2 separate regions of the Homo sapiens genome follow, and region 1 is linked to region 2. The links are contacts of gene promoters, found by promoter capture Hi-C in blood cells and fetal thymus (Javierre and others, 2016). All regions are on one chromosome and are shown on one strand. The core of a region is centred on a gene start or on the middle of the fragment in contact, and the rest is flanking DNA. Distances in the headings are between cores, read along the strand shown. Region 1 overlaps LOC105372058 (a long non-coding RNA gene). Region 2 holds the start of KLHL14 (kelch like family member 14).

Region 1 (6,992 bases), core at 783-3,282, 130 kb before region 2:
AGGAGAACTAGTCCATTTTTTAAACAGTATTTGATGGCTTGAAGACGGGCCATAAAATTTGGTGATCCATTTTTAAATGAATGATTTGGTTTCCAGTGAGGAAGCCACTGGCAGTCTGAATTGTTGAAAGAAGCATGAGGAGAGAGAGTAATTCAAGACCACAGAGACCCCCAGAATCAGGTCCTGTGGATGCTCAGCCCTGTATTCTGCCCTTTAAGGCTCATGTTTTTTACCCTGAACTCTTGTCACTTATATCTTTGTTTGAAGAAAAGTTTCAAGATTGCTTTAGTCCACGGCTGGTTAAAAGACAAAGGAACCCAAAGCACAAATACGAACACCTGGGAAATTGCATTTTCGTGATCAATCTACCTCTTCTTAAATACACTTTGTTTGTTTGCCTATCTGAGTGTAAGCCCCAAGGCAAGAACTGTGTCTTTTTAATGTGTTTCACAGCACCGAACCTATTGCAAAAGCTGAGGCAATGATAAACAGTAATAATAATGCCATTCAAAGGGAATGCTGACTCAAATAGCGTGATTTTAACCCTGCTGGTTTAGATACTTGGAGTTGGGAAAAGATATGGCACTAGAAAAATTTATAAATATATAATCCAACTCTGCTTCTAAAATCTTCCAAAATCCGAGTCATTCTAATCTCTGTTTGGGTTGCATATTTTGAAAACTGAAATGGTAAAAGTAATATTTGCCAAACACACACACACACACACACACACACACAAACCTGTACTAGAACAAAAATGTAATCACCAAACATTTTCTGAGCACCAACAGTATTCATTAAAGAAATAAAAGAAAATAGGATACATTTCCTACTCTCTCAGACCTCATAATGTATAGGCAGATCATGAAAGAGTTAAGAGAGGGGAAAACAGGAGATTTTTTTTAATGCTTTTGTGAAAACCGTGCCCTGTAGATCATAATAAAATGCACTCATTTGAAATGGATGGTCTATTCCTAAGAACATACCTACATGGGTCAGCTCTTTGGAGGAAAAATGCAAGACTGATTATCTACACTCAGGGAATGGGGCCTGACTAGAGAGTGTGCTTGGAGCACCTTTCTGAGTTTTCAGAAGACATGTCATTAGTGGAAATATAAGAGGGGCTCTAGGCCAGGTGTGGTGGCTCACGCCTGTAATCCCAGCACTTTGGGAGGCCGAGGTGGGCGGATCACCTGAGGTGGTCAGGAGATCGAGACCATCCTGGCCAACATGGTGAAACCCCGTCTCCACTAAAAATACAAAAAATTAATCAGGCATGGTAGCACGTGCCTGTAGTCCCAGCTACTCGGGAGGCTAAGGCAGGAGAATCCCTTGAACCTGGGAGGCAGAGGTTGAAGTGAGCCAAGATCACGCCACTGCACTCTAGCCTGGGTGACAGAGTAAGACTCCGTCTCAAAAAAAAAGAGGTTCTAGCCTAAAATACTTATCTTCCACCTATATATTTATCTGAATTGTTTATCACATTAGCTAGTTGCCATTTCCCCAGAGCAGAAACCTAAAAGACTGAGACAGGAGGATGCATAGGTGTTGATGAGACCGATAGTGAAGAAATCTGGCAGCCTCAGTGTGAAGAGCATAGCACATTTTTGAGAAAGATACTGAAAAGAAGGAAGGAGATGTTTTAAGAATGGAATTTAGGAAGACATTGGGAGACCAGGGGAAAACTTGCCTGCCATACAAATTATCCAGTTCTTAACCTGAATGTTACTTTGAGGAGGATTAGGCACAGCTCAATATTCTGAAATTAAATTCATCTAGATTTTATATAATGAATTTCAATTTGCCATTGCAGCTTTCCTAACTGGAATTAGGACTGTAATTACTCCTGGTGGTTTTTGTGACCCAGAAGATTCAAGAAAATTTGAAGCTGTAGGATCTTTGGAAGCCAAAAGGTAGTATGTGTCACTGGAGACATTTTTACATTTTCAATGTTACAGACTGAATTTTGCCTCCCTCCCTTCATATATTAAAGTACTAATTCTTAATGTGATAGTATTTGAAGATGTGACCTGTAGACAAGTGATTAAGATTAAATGATGTCATAAGGGTAGGATTCTAACTCCATATGACTAACGTCTTTATAAAAAGAGGAAGAGACCCCAGGGATGTGTACACAGAGAAAACACCATATGATAACATAATGAAAAGGTGGCCATCTGCAAGCCAAGGAAAAGAGTCCTCACTAGAGACCAACCCTGCCAACACCTTGATCTTAGAATTCCAGCCTACAAAATGGCAAGAAATAAGTTACTGTTGTTTAAATCACCCAGTTTGGCGTTTTGTTTTGGCAACTCTAGCAGACAATACACTGAACTCACTTAAGTGATTACTCACTAGGAAAATTGCTCTTCATAAAGGAAAAAATAGCATAAATGTGCCACTAGGACAAAGAGGGGCAACAACAAATAGAGGAACTTAGAGTCTAGAGTGATGATTTTCAGTTGGGTGAAGGGATGGCCAGGTACAAGGTAACTTCTGCAAAATCTATGTCTTACTTCCCTTCTCTCAGAACCCTACACCAGATGCTGATTTATTTTGAGACCAGCATGAATAATTGAAAATGTTTCCAGATAATTCTAATATATGAGCACCCTTCCTCTCTCACCCCTCCACTCTGGCTTAGACATTCATCACCGAACTGCTGGATGCCTATTATAAAATTAAAGTGCATCAGTGGTGACTATTCCAGCTAATGGCTGATTATCCAAAGGCCAATCATGAACCATAGTTATATGAAAATAGTTGTCTTCACTCTCTATTCCATCTACGATATCAAAGCAGAATCAGAAGCAACAGTAAAACGCCAGAAATGTGAGATGCCATTCCTCAGGAAGAAATTGTCTATATTTGTCCAGAATAGAGCATCTTACATAATAGATGAAACATAAAGCCTCACCTCTCTTGGGATATGAAAATATTAAATGTGTAACTGATCCACAAAGAAAACAAAGTCTCCTATTGTCATTACTTTGTTCAATTAGGTCCCACATTTCTATTACTTATTTGGCAGAGACGTAAGGTTTTGCCCATAACTGAGTTCTCTACTTCCCTTTCAATTAGGCTAGAATTTCCAGTCTCTCTTCCAGTTAGGTGTAGCAATATGACTAAGTTCTCACCAAAAGGATGAGTAGAAGTGACATACACTCCTTCCAGGCCCACCTGAGAACCTCATTTCTTTTCCTGACCATAAGGTAGAACAAGAAGATCTGAGAACCTGAATAAAACTGAGTCTCATAATGAAAATTGCCTGGGTCCTTGGATGACTGCATAGTGGAGCAACCTACTAATCCCCCAGATTCAATAAATTAACAGGGGTGAAAAATAACCTTTCATTATTTCAATCCATTTCCATTACTGTTATTTATTAGAACAGTAGACCAATTCTAATAACACATTTATATTAGAAATAGCAAAGAGTTCTCTTTTTTGCCAATAAGTTCCAGGAGTTTTCACTTTAGGAATGATCATCTGAAGCTAAACAATTCATATTCACCCTGATCTTGCAGAAGCTCTGAGTCAATTCCCATGCAAGGCTAAAGGGTAACTGAGCTGATGGACTAAGTTTTTTGATGAAATTAAAGCAGGGGTCATGGTGATCTTTCACAGTTGAGTGATGTCTTTCTTCAAAGACGTATATATCTTGGATGTATTCCATAAGAGTTGCTCTCCTTTATGAGCCTTGTCAGATGGGGTCTTCTTATAATTCCACTTTCCTTGAAATGAGAGAACCAGGGCCAAGCACTATGAGCACTTATTAGATATTCCTTGATGATTATATAAACATACAAGTTTAAGTCTGATAAGCCTAGGCTATGGACTATGGAAATAGAGCTTAATTATGGCCTGGACATGTTTACTGGTTAGTAGCAAGTGTCTGGGTTTCTGGCCATTCTGTTGATCTTTATTGATACATAATAGTTGTATATATTTTGGGGGTATATGTGATATTTTGGTATATGCATACAATGTGTAAAGATCAAATCAGGATAATTGGAATATCCCTCATCTCAAACATTTATCTTTTCTTTATGTTGGGAATCTTCCAACTCTGGTCATTGTCTTGAGGGCAGTTTTGCAAAGCATGTGTTTGATTAACCTCTCAAATCATAACCTCCTGTCTCCCAACCTATGGGGGTATGGAAGGAAGAACTGAGTATTCCCAATTCATTTTATCTGCGCCCATATGGGTTTGTCACATGCTCATTGGAATAATAATGTCTGAGAGCAATGAGGGGGTGGATAGATCACTGGAGAGTGTGTGTGTGTGTGTGTGTGTGTTATCTGCAGGGATAGACAGATAGCAGTTCTAGGGAAGTAAAAAGCAGGGCAGAGAAGTAACAAATGGACATATGAATACTCTACCCAATCTCTGGCCTTTTACAAACAAATAGGTTTAACCCTATACCATAGTATCACCAATATTACTAATTAGGATGAGCCATGCTATTTGATAAACTTTTATTATGTTTTATTATAAACAAGAACATTTGAATTTTTCACTATTAATAACAAATAACATGTGTTAGAACTTAATGAACCACAAAGCACTTTGCATAAACATTATCTCAAAGCAGAAATTTTTTTGGGCCCTGCACCCCATCCACTTGGCCCACCTCTGATTTCAGAGCAGCTATGGTAGCACTTCCATGCATGTACTCTGCCACCATTCTTTCTCAAGCTCAAGCAGCAACTTCTCTCCACTTCTCTGCCTCAGGACTTTCTCTAAAGTCACACAACACAGTCACAGTCAGAAAGCGTGGGAGTGGGATGGGAGACAATACTCCTGGTGTGGTGGAAACTCTCAACTAATGAGACAAAGGCATTAGCAGGTAAATGTCTGGACTTCGCATGTTCTGGAAAGACAATTCCGAGGTTCACATTCTATACATATACATTTAGAGGGTCCTCAGTAGAATTAAGACCTACTTGCCCACAGCAAAAACCAGCTGATATTCCAAAAGTGTTGTCCCTCCTACTTCCTTGTCTCCATTTCCCTGCTCTGTCAAGATGGTTTCCCTGCTCTAACAAGAAGGTAACTCGATCCAAGTCCTGGATTTGGGCTCTGCTTTAGGATAATCTGACCAAGATATTTCATTGAATCTTCACTCTAGAATAGAAACCCATATGCATCATGACATGTACCTCTTGAACATTTGCAGCTAAAGAAAAAAAGGCACAAGATGAATTGGGCAGCTCGTGCTCCATCTGCTGGAGGGTTAGAAGTTGCCAATTATACGACTAAATGTTGTGACTTAGCCATACTACTTTTCAAGGACCAAAATTGCAGCCAAACTCAGAAAGATATTATCATTTGCCTTCTAAAGAGACTTGGAGTTGTAGAAAAGCTATGAACTTATCATGTATCTTGCTTGCAGAATCCACTTTGGGACTGTTTGGGACTGTTACTAATTTTGACAAACCATATTTGAATCTTTAACATATTATTGAATTAATGTAACTTCAAAAGAAAACTAGCAGCCTCTTCTATCAAGTCTGCCTTGTATCATTATCACCTTTCTTAAATTTCTCTATTATTTTAAAATCTAAGTTTTCTAAAAAAATACTTTATCTTATAACCTCAGCTTCTGAAATTAGAATTTTAAAAGCTTCTAAGCAGTTAAACTCTAAATAAAAAATTCCATATAGTAAAGCTTCTGTAATTTTTTCGTGATCCACTCATCGCATACAAATTTGGTTTCCTTGGTAGTTTTGCCCTTGAACTGAATAGAAATAACCAGATACAATGTAAGAGAACAGCATATATGTGTAGAAAGGAACAATAGATAACAACATGGCCACAGGAGAGAAGACAATAAAAATCAGAAAAGAGAATTTTAAAAGATCAAGCTGGCTTTTGTATGCACCTGAATAACCTTAGTGAAATTTTAGATCATATCACCACCTAAAAATCAATGATGAGAGAATGATGGCAAGGAATCATGTATATTCTGTTTCTGAAGCCAAAGAAGTATAGAGGATAGAATAGAAATATTTTCATGACGTAATTTTAATACTATCTAGCATTTATTGACTACCCACCTTGTGCTAAACAATATACACTTGGCATTTTACAAACATCATCTTCAGTCCTCACTGCAACATTGCAAATCATTTGCCACTATCCTTCTTTTAAACAGGAGAAATCTGAGGCTCAGAAAGGTTATTTAACATTCCCAAGGCAACACAGTTAGTTGATAGTTACCCCAGAGTATAAATTCAAATCTCTTTAGCTCCAAAATCCATGATTCTTTCTTACTCTTTGTCACCTTTACTATAAATAACATTTCTATTAGTTTGTTCTTGTGTCACAGCAAAGGAATACTTGCAACCGATAGTTTATAAAGAAAAGAGGTTTTAATTGGCTCATAGTTCTACAGGCTGTACAGGAAGAAAGAAGCTGGGATCTACTTCTGGCGAGAGCCTCAGGAAGCTCCCAACCATGGGAGAAGATGAAGGGGGAGCAGGTGCATCACATGGTGAGAGTGGGAGCAAGACACGGGGAGGAGATGCCACACTCCTTTTTTTTTTTTTTTTTTTTTTGAGATTAAGTCTCGCTCTGTTGCCCAGGTTGGAGTGCAATGGCATGATCTCAGCTCATTACAACCTCTGCCTCCTGGGTTCAAGTGATTCTCCCACCTCAGCCTCCCAAGTAGCCAGGACTACAGGCACACACCACCACACCCAGCTAAGTTTTCTATTTTTAGTAGAGACGAGGTTTCACCAGGGGCTGGTCTTGAGCTCCTGACTCTCAAGTAATCCACTAACCTTGGCCTCCCAAAGTGCTGGGGTTAAAGGCATGAGCCACCATGCCTGGCCGAGATGCCACACTCTTTCAAACAACCAGATCTGACATGAAATCAGTGAAAACTCACTCATTACCACAAGGAGTGCACCAAGCCATTCCTGAGAGATTTGCTCCCATGACCCAAACACCTCCCACTAGGCCCACTTCCAACATTTAGGTCACATTC
Region 2 (7,211 bases), core at 4,693-7,192:
TGTGTGAAACACCAATGTCCCCAGCGGGAAAAGGGTGGTGGTTTTTAAAACTACAGGTAAACAACATATATAGATATACGATATCTAGAGAGCAAAGCCAAAAATAGTGGTACTTTCATTAAAGTGACCAGTTGCCTCTTGAGTAGTATCATGAATCCTTACAACCCTAAGAAAAGTAGATGTATTCTTTTCATCATCCAATATTTGTTGAGCACTAGGCATAATCTGTAGAAAAGAAAAAAAAGGAAAACTAGGAAGAGAATTCTCTAGCTACATCTGTCTACTTTTTATTTAACAAATGTTCACAAAGCATTCACTATGTGTCTGGTACTGTTTTAAGGACTTACAAATATTTACAAAAATTTAAACACCGTAAGATCCGTTGAGATAGGTTCTACAATTATCCCATTCTCAAATGAAGAAAGCAGGCACAGGGAGGTTACTTGCCCAAGGTCACACCGATAGAAAGTGGCAGAACAAGGATTCAATTCCAGGGAATCTGCCTCCAGAATTCATGCACAGAATTGCAGCTCTGTGCTACCTTTGTTGAGTAGTTTAATTACTATTAAAGCAACTACTCTCTTCAAAGTTTTGGAGAGCTTTGCTGGGTGATTGTGGCTATAGGTAAAATGTTTGGAGGAAGCACTTACTAAGGTCCCATCAAACTCTTAGCTATGTGCTGTGAGCAGTAATTTCACAATAGAATAAAGATTTTATTAATTTTAAGACAGTAGATCAGTATAATCTGGAGATTGACTAATACCAGTTTAGTCAAATACCTGACAGTCTCTGATTGTTAAATTCTTCCCTTGTTCTCTCTGCTCTTTCTCTGATACATTTGAAAATTCACCTTTAATAGTCCATCAATATATTTATTGAATAACTACTATGGGCAAAGCACAAAGCTACGTACTATGGGAGATTTTTACCAGACAGAGAGCTTTTTCTCCCCTGGATGCTTATAATCTAGTTAAGATGATAACAGATTTCCCTGAATAAGCAATTAACAAAGCAGTAAATAATAAATGTTGAAAGAGTGTTACAGACAATATGTACTCTGAGGAAGTTAAGAGGCGAGCTTCTTTCTGCTTCAGTAAGTCCTTATACATACCCGTATCAGAGCAATTATCAAGTATAATTATTCACTTGCTGAAGCTAATTTACCAGCTTGTCTCTTCTACTGGAGTGTAAGCCTCTTGAGGACAAGAATGCAGTTTTATTCATCATTGTTTCCTTGATGTTTAGCACAGTGTTTGGTGTTCAATAGATACTTAATATATACTTGATGAATGAATGAATGCATGAATAAATAAACAAATGTTTCCTAGAGGCAGGCATTTCTTTTGTGGCCAGTACAGTAGAATGGTAAATCCCTGGAGTCAGGCTGTGTTGGTTTGAACCTAAGCACTACTTTTGAAAAGTTGTGTGATTCTGAAAAATTTACGTGATTTCTCTGCATTTCATTTTGCTCATTGGTAAAATGATAATAATTGTACCTTTCTTCAGCAGCTAATTTGGCTATGGAACAAATCACCCCAAAAGCTAATGACTTGAAACAGCAGCCATTGATGTAGCTCAGGGTTCTGTGGATCTGTCATTTGGAGCATGTTGGTTCTCCTGTCTCAGCTGGGCTCATTCATGCATCTGAGTTCAGCTATTGGGCAATCTGGGGAATGTTTTGTCCATGTGATGTGTCATCTTCTACCAGGCTAGCCTGGGCTTCATCACATGGTATCTGGCAGGGCTCTAAGAGGGAGAGTTGAAACACACAAGGCCTCTTGAAGCTTAGACTCAGAATTGGCACAAGGTCGCTTCTGGCACATTCCATTGGTCAAAGCAAGTTACAAGGCCAGCTCACATTCAAGGATTAGGTAAGTCGATTCCACTCTTGATGAGAAGAGCAGCAAAGCCATATTATAATGTAGTGTGTATACCAGGAAGGGTGGAGACATGGAGGTATTTTTGCAATCTGCCATAGTCTTCCATAGGATTAGCAAGAGGATTAAGAAAATAAAACATCTGAAGGATTTGGAACAGTGTCCACCATGCAGTAATAAACTCAATAAGTAGTAGCCATTATTATTCTGTTAGAGGTTGCCAGGAAAAGTTTTATAGTGGAAAGAAATCTGAGTTTACTCTTGAGAGGTAAGTGGAATTTCTATTTGTAGAGAATGAAGGCCTCTCAAAAAGACACAGCCTAACAATAGGTGCTGCAGTTTAACAGTGGAGCGTGTCCAGAACAGGCTGCCCAGAGGAGCTAGAGCTAAATACTGGGAACCCGGAATGTGAGCCACAGAGTTGGGCTTGACAGCAGAGCAATAGCAAACCATTGGCTTTTGCCTAAATGTTAGCCAATAGCACCATTTCTTATTGTTATTTCAGATTTTGTGTTCTTTAATAAGCTTCTCAGTGCTGATGGTTCTGTGATATCTTTGACCCATCTACTCAAGATTTAAAAAAAAAAAAAAAACTAGAAATCTTGAGTTGTGCCTGGGTTTTGCCACTCCCTAACTTTGAAGGAGCTATGTGATCCCTCTTTACTCAATTTTATTCCATGTGTAAAATGGAATAATTTCTTCCCTTATACATCCATTCCACAATGACAGTAATCTTAAAGGTCAGATCACATTGAAATAGTGTTTACTATCCAAAAGACACAGGGGAGACCAGGCTCTGATGTTTATGCAATTTGGTGATAACTCATAAATCCTAAGCAGAAAAGTCAAGAATAAGGAAAATAAAGATTCAGTGTGGCTGCCCCTATATGTTAAGCAGCAAAACATTTCTAGAACTGCTCTAAAGATAATCTTCAGTTCCTCCAGTCCAGTGAGATGATCCTGAGCAACTGGAACCACTGATAGGCCTGGATCTCTGCCACCTTGAAGGCTGACCAGACCACTAGAAACTAATGGCAGCTCTAGTAGACTGCTCAGTGGCCATAGTTTCAGAATCTTTCCATTGTACATGGTTTAAATGCAAATTCACTAATGAATAATTTTGATAATTCTATCGAAGTATGAAGATGGCTTGCATTAGATGACTACACAATCATATTTAATTTTTTTTTAAAAAAGACAATTCTGGCTCCTCTTATGCCACGTGAAATCCATCCTGCTGAGTGCTCCTGACTAGTCACGTCCTTCCTGCCATTTTAAAAACAATAGTGGCAGAGATGCAAGCTGCTGATAGCGCTCAGCAGGACAGATCAAACACACAGATGCAATTTCTGTATGTTGAACACTGAAGTAGGATAAAATTCAAATACTTAAAATCGCTTAGTAGCTAGCATCTGATTGCTGCAAATTGAATCTTTCATAACGAGATTTATTGTAAATAGTGTCGTCTCATTTGTGAGTTCTGCAATAATTTCAGTCAAAGCCAGTATAAGATACTGGAGGTGTGAGATTTACATGACATATATGCTAGTTTATGCACAGATTATGAAGGGACCCTTTATCAATATTCTTTTTTAATTGCTTATACAATAACCAGAATTGTATTTTTTTCTGAAATTTAAACATTATCAGATAACTTTAGAATGCAGAAGAAAATGTTTTTATCCACTTCAACAGCCATTTTAGAATTGCCAGCTCCCAATCCCACTCTCTTCCCTTTCCACCCTAGTTGTTAAATAAGCATTAAAATTATAGGTAGCTAAAATTTTTGAAATGTGGCTTTTATATTGTTTGGAAGCAATAAAGAGCCTGGTAATCATAATTAGTGGTCAATATATCCTATCCATAAAAAAATAGAAATTTGAAACTAAGTTATTTTGAGGCCTACAAACATACTTTAATTCTTTCAAGATAAAACAGGAAGGTGGCCATAATTTAAGTGATCAATACTATTATTGCCTTTGGGCTTAGTTCCAAATACTTCATGAGAAGTTCATAAAAGATCAACATCAAAATCATAATATAAAAATTGCACTTTACATGTATGAGAGTTTTGTGACACTCCACATACTTGATAGCTTTAATTGCTAGTGACACAGAACTCCAAAAATGTTCTATCTTAGAGTCACATGATCTTCCTGTTCAACACCCAAATAAGGGAAATTTAAACAAAAATCAAAACAATAATAGGGCCAGGAGAATTGTATAATCTGTTGTCTTTCTCTCCTCTGCCCTAAACAACAACAACAGCAAAATTCTTTTCTATGATTTAATCATGTATTGGGGCATTTCCACTATAAACATAAATATGAGAATGCAGCATCTCAACAGGATCTGAATAAAGAAGTCTTACTCTCAGATAATCTAGAACCTTGACAAAAAAAGTGGGGGGGCTTTGTGAGGGTTAAATGCTTCAGTTTGATCCTTCTTAATTCATTTAAGTGTGACTATCCCATGTGCACGTTAATGTTATCATTGTAAATGGGGAATCCCTATTTCTGAACCTCAGAATTTTTAATTTTCCTCCCTTTCCTAAGCAGGTGTCTTTCCATCTCTCACAAATCAAAGAGGATGATGGGGGGTCTGAATAGATGTCTTGCAATGGTGCCCTGATACGTATTTTAATAAGTTTACTAATCAGAGCACATATAAATTAGAATGAATCATAGTCATATAGTTAATAGCAAACAAAGCTCAATTTAGTTCATGTCCAGCTTTCTTCGTGTTCATTTTACTCAAGGGCATACCTTCCTTTTTCTGCTTCTTTTTTTTCTTTCTTTCTTGGACACCTCCAACCCCCATTGACAACCGAAATGCAGGGCTATAAACATAAGGGTGCAATACATCATGAGATAAGTCTGGAGAACATGTCCTCTACCAAAATGCACATGAATCTCTGGTACAGCTAAAATTCCAGAAACATGCTGGGGTTCCTTTTGCATGCTAAGCAGGGTCAAAAATGTGAGCACTATGTGGTTGCCCTTATATATCAGATGAGCTCTAAAGTTGAAAGGTTACATTTGTGAAATTGCGGCTGGGTTTCCTAGCACTTGATTCTAGCTCCTGCAAATCAAAGACTCCTAATTGAAATACAAATCCAACAATATGATAATCTTTCAGTAAAAAAAAAAAAAAAAAAAAAACGTGACTTCTGCACCCTTATCTGTTGAAGAGCTGACAGAGAAGTTCAGAGGCAGTTGTTTAACCAGACAAAATGATAGAGAAAATATGTTTTCAAATAAGATCATAAACCTTGAACAGTGCCTTGTGGGAAGCAAATGTAAAGCAAAGGGCTGTCCTCTATTCTGTCTACCAGCTCTACTCCCCCACCCCGGTGTGTATCCTCAGCCACTCACCTTTTAGGCAAGGGCTAGTGTCTTTCAGGACAGACCCAAACCCCAAATACCAAAACAGAATAAAGTAGTGTCTTAGCATACTTTGAGATCAGACTGTTTCTGCATTTCACAGTGCTGGGGGTGGGGGGGAGGTGTGGGGGGAAGGGAAAAGCAGCATACCAATGTAGTGAAATCTGGAAACAACAGCATATATACAGACACAAAAAAAGTTTGCATATTGCACAGAGCACTTGAAGATCATAAATCTATGCATGAGAAAGATGTAGTGGAAATTTTGGGGGGGATTAGAGTTTATTTTTGTCATCTCTGTGAGACAGCTACTCATTCATCCAGATCACAGCTAAGAAAAAAGCTGGTCACAGAAATTAGCAGTTTCAGCTCAGCAGCGAAGTCGCCAGCCTGTGAAGGCAGAGAGAAATTGACTAATTAGCAATGCGCACTAAAACTTGACGGTTCTTTATAGAGAGAGAGAAGAGAGAGGGAGAGAGAGGGAGAGGGAGGGAGGGGGGGCTCGCTTTTTCCCCTTCTTTCTTCCAAAGATGTTTGAAATCGCAGTCATTTACGCTCGACAATTTTTACAATAGCCTTGAGCCATAATTTTGCGAGTCTCTCCAGCATCCATCCCCCTGTATGGTCTCTCTCTACTGGCCAAGCACGACCGTTTCTCTCCCCAACCGTGGATTTCCTATTACTCTCGTTACGACTCACTGAGCCCCAGGCCCAAGGATAATGATGTGTTGTTTCTTGGTAGCATAATTTGTCACACGTACATTTTTTCTTCTTCTTCTCTTGCAGAAAGCTCTGCTCCCTCTCTCTCTCCCTCTCTCTTTCTCTCTTTTCTCCCTCTCCTACATTTTCTTGCTGTTGCTAATTCATGGTGATCAAATGATGTACGACAAAATAAATTGTAAAGAGTGACTGCCTGGAGTTGGGAACCAGAAGGTGTTTTCCCCCTCCCAAGGAGACAGCAAACCTTTAAAAAGGAAGGACAATTGATTTTTGGGGGGAGCTTAAGTGAGCCTTGACTTTGCAGCTGGTTGAGAACAGGTAAGTTTCTGGCCTTGTGTCTGCCTTGTGTGTATTTTGTTCTGTCTTTTGGATTGTTGGAGGGGGAAGGGCCGGGGAGGGAGTCTTTCAGAGGGGTTGGCGGGGGGGTAGTTGTATGGCAAACGCTCATAAAGAAAAAACTCCTATTGCAAGAAATAAGCAGATGAGGAGGAAAGGCAAGGGAGAAGAACAAGAAGGAAGGGGAATAGGAAAAGATGGGGCGGGGGGAGACAACGAAGCGGAGAGAGCTAGAGAGAGGTATGACCGGGTCCTCTTAAAGGGAGAGAGACTCTGTAAGATGTTTCAGGCAAGCCAGAGCTTTGGGGGCGGGCGTGGGGGTGCTGCCGGCGGAGGGAGCGCGAGGGAGGGTAGGGTCCACCTGGAACGGGATGGTAAAGTGAGTCGAAAGGAGCCCAGTCCGGTATAAATAGGAAGCCGGCGATCCAGGACCGGCGCCAGGCAGGGCAGAGTGAGCCGCAGTGGAAGGGGCAGGTCCGCCGGGATCCCTCCGAGCCGGGCGGCGGCGGCGGCTCTCCCCCGGGCGGGCGGGCCGGCGGGCCGGCGGGCCGGCGCGCGGGCGGGATGCAAGCAGAGGGTCCCTTTCTGCTCAGCCCTGGAAGGTGCAATTACAGGTTAAGGACCTGGCGTATCGATTTCGCCTCGCCTCCCCCACCCTGCCCTCCTCTGCCTAGATGCGGGCGGCTCAGACTTTTTACAGAAGTAGTTCCAGGGCCGGGGAAGTGGGGGTGCCCGAGTGGGGGGCCGCTGGGGGCTCTACCGAGGGGGTCAGAAGGGAGCTGCGGCTGCAGGCGACGATGCTGGGTGGGGCGCAGAGACCCCGCACCCCACTGCTCCCCCGCCCCCCCGCTCGTTCGACAGCCCCCACCCCTCCCCCAACACCTGCCTTCTAACT

What was found. The method cuts DNA at HindIII sites, captures the fragments that hold promoters and counts their contacts. A CHiCAGO score of 5 or more calls a contact.
Region 1: a contact is called between a fragment that was not itself captured here and the fragment with the promoter of KLHL14 in region 2, in 1 of 17 cell types (naive B cells). The highest score is 5.8, in naive B cells.

The regions. Positions count from the first base shown.
Region 1 is chr18:32,898,256-32,905,247 of GRCh38, reverse strand. LOC105372058 (a long non-coding RNA gene) reads right to left here. Exons shown (of 10, transcript XR_935361.2): 7 at 4,635-4,743; 8 at 3,515-3,734. Among named protein-coding and RNA genes, the nearest start is that of KLHL14, 130 kb to the right of the region's middle. The HindIII fragment of the contact is 7,195 bases long and covers 1-5,629 here.
Region 2 is chr18:32,771,754-32,778,964 of GRCh38, reverse strand. It overlaps KLHL14 (kelch like family member 14), which reads left to right and starts at 5,942. Exons shown (of 9, transcript NM_020805.3): 1 at 5,942-6,298. It overlaps LOC105372055 (a long non-coding RNA gene), which reads right to left. Exons shown (of 2, transcript XR_935342.4): 1 at 6,678-7,211; 2 at 5,524-5,650. The HindIII fragment of the contact is 5,436 bases long and covers 2,405-7,211 here.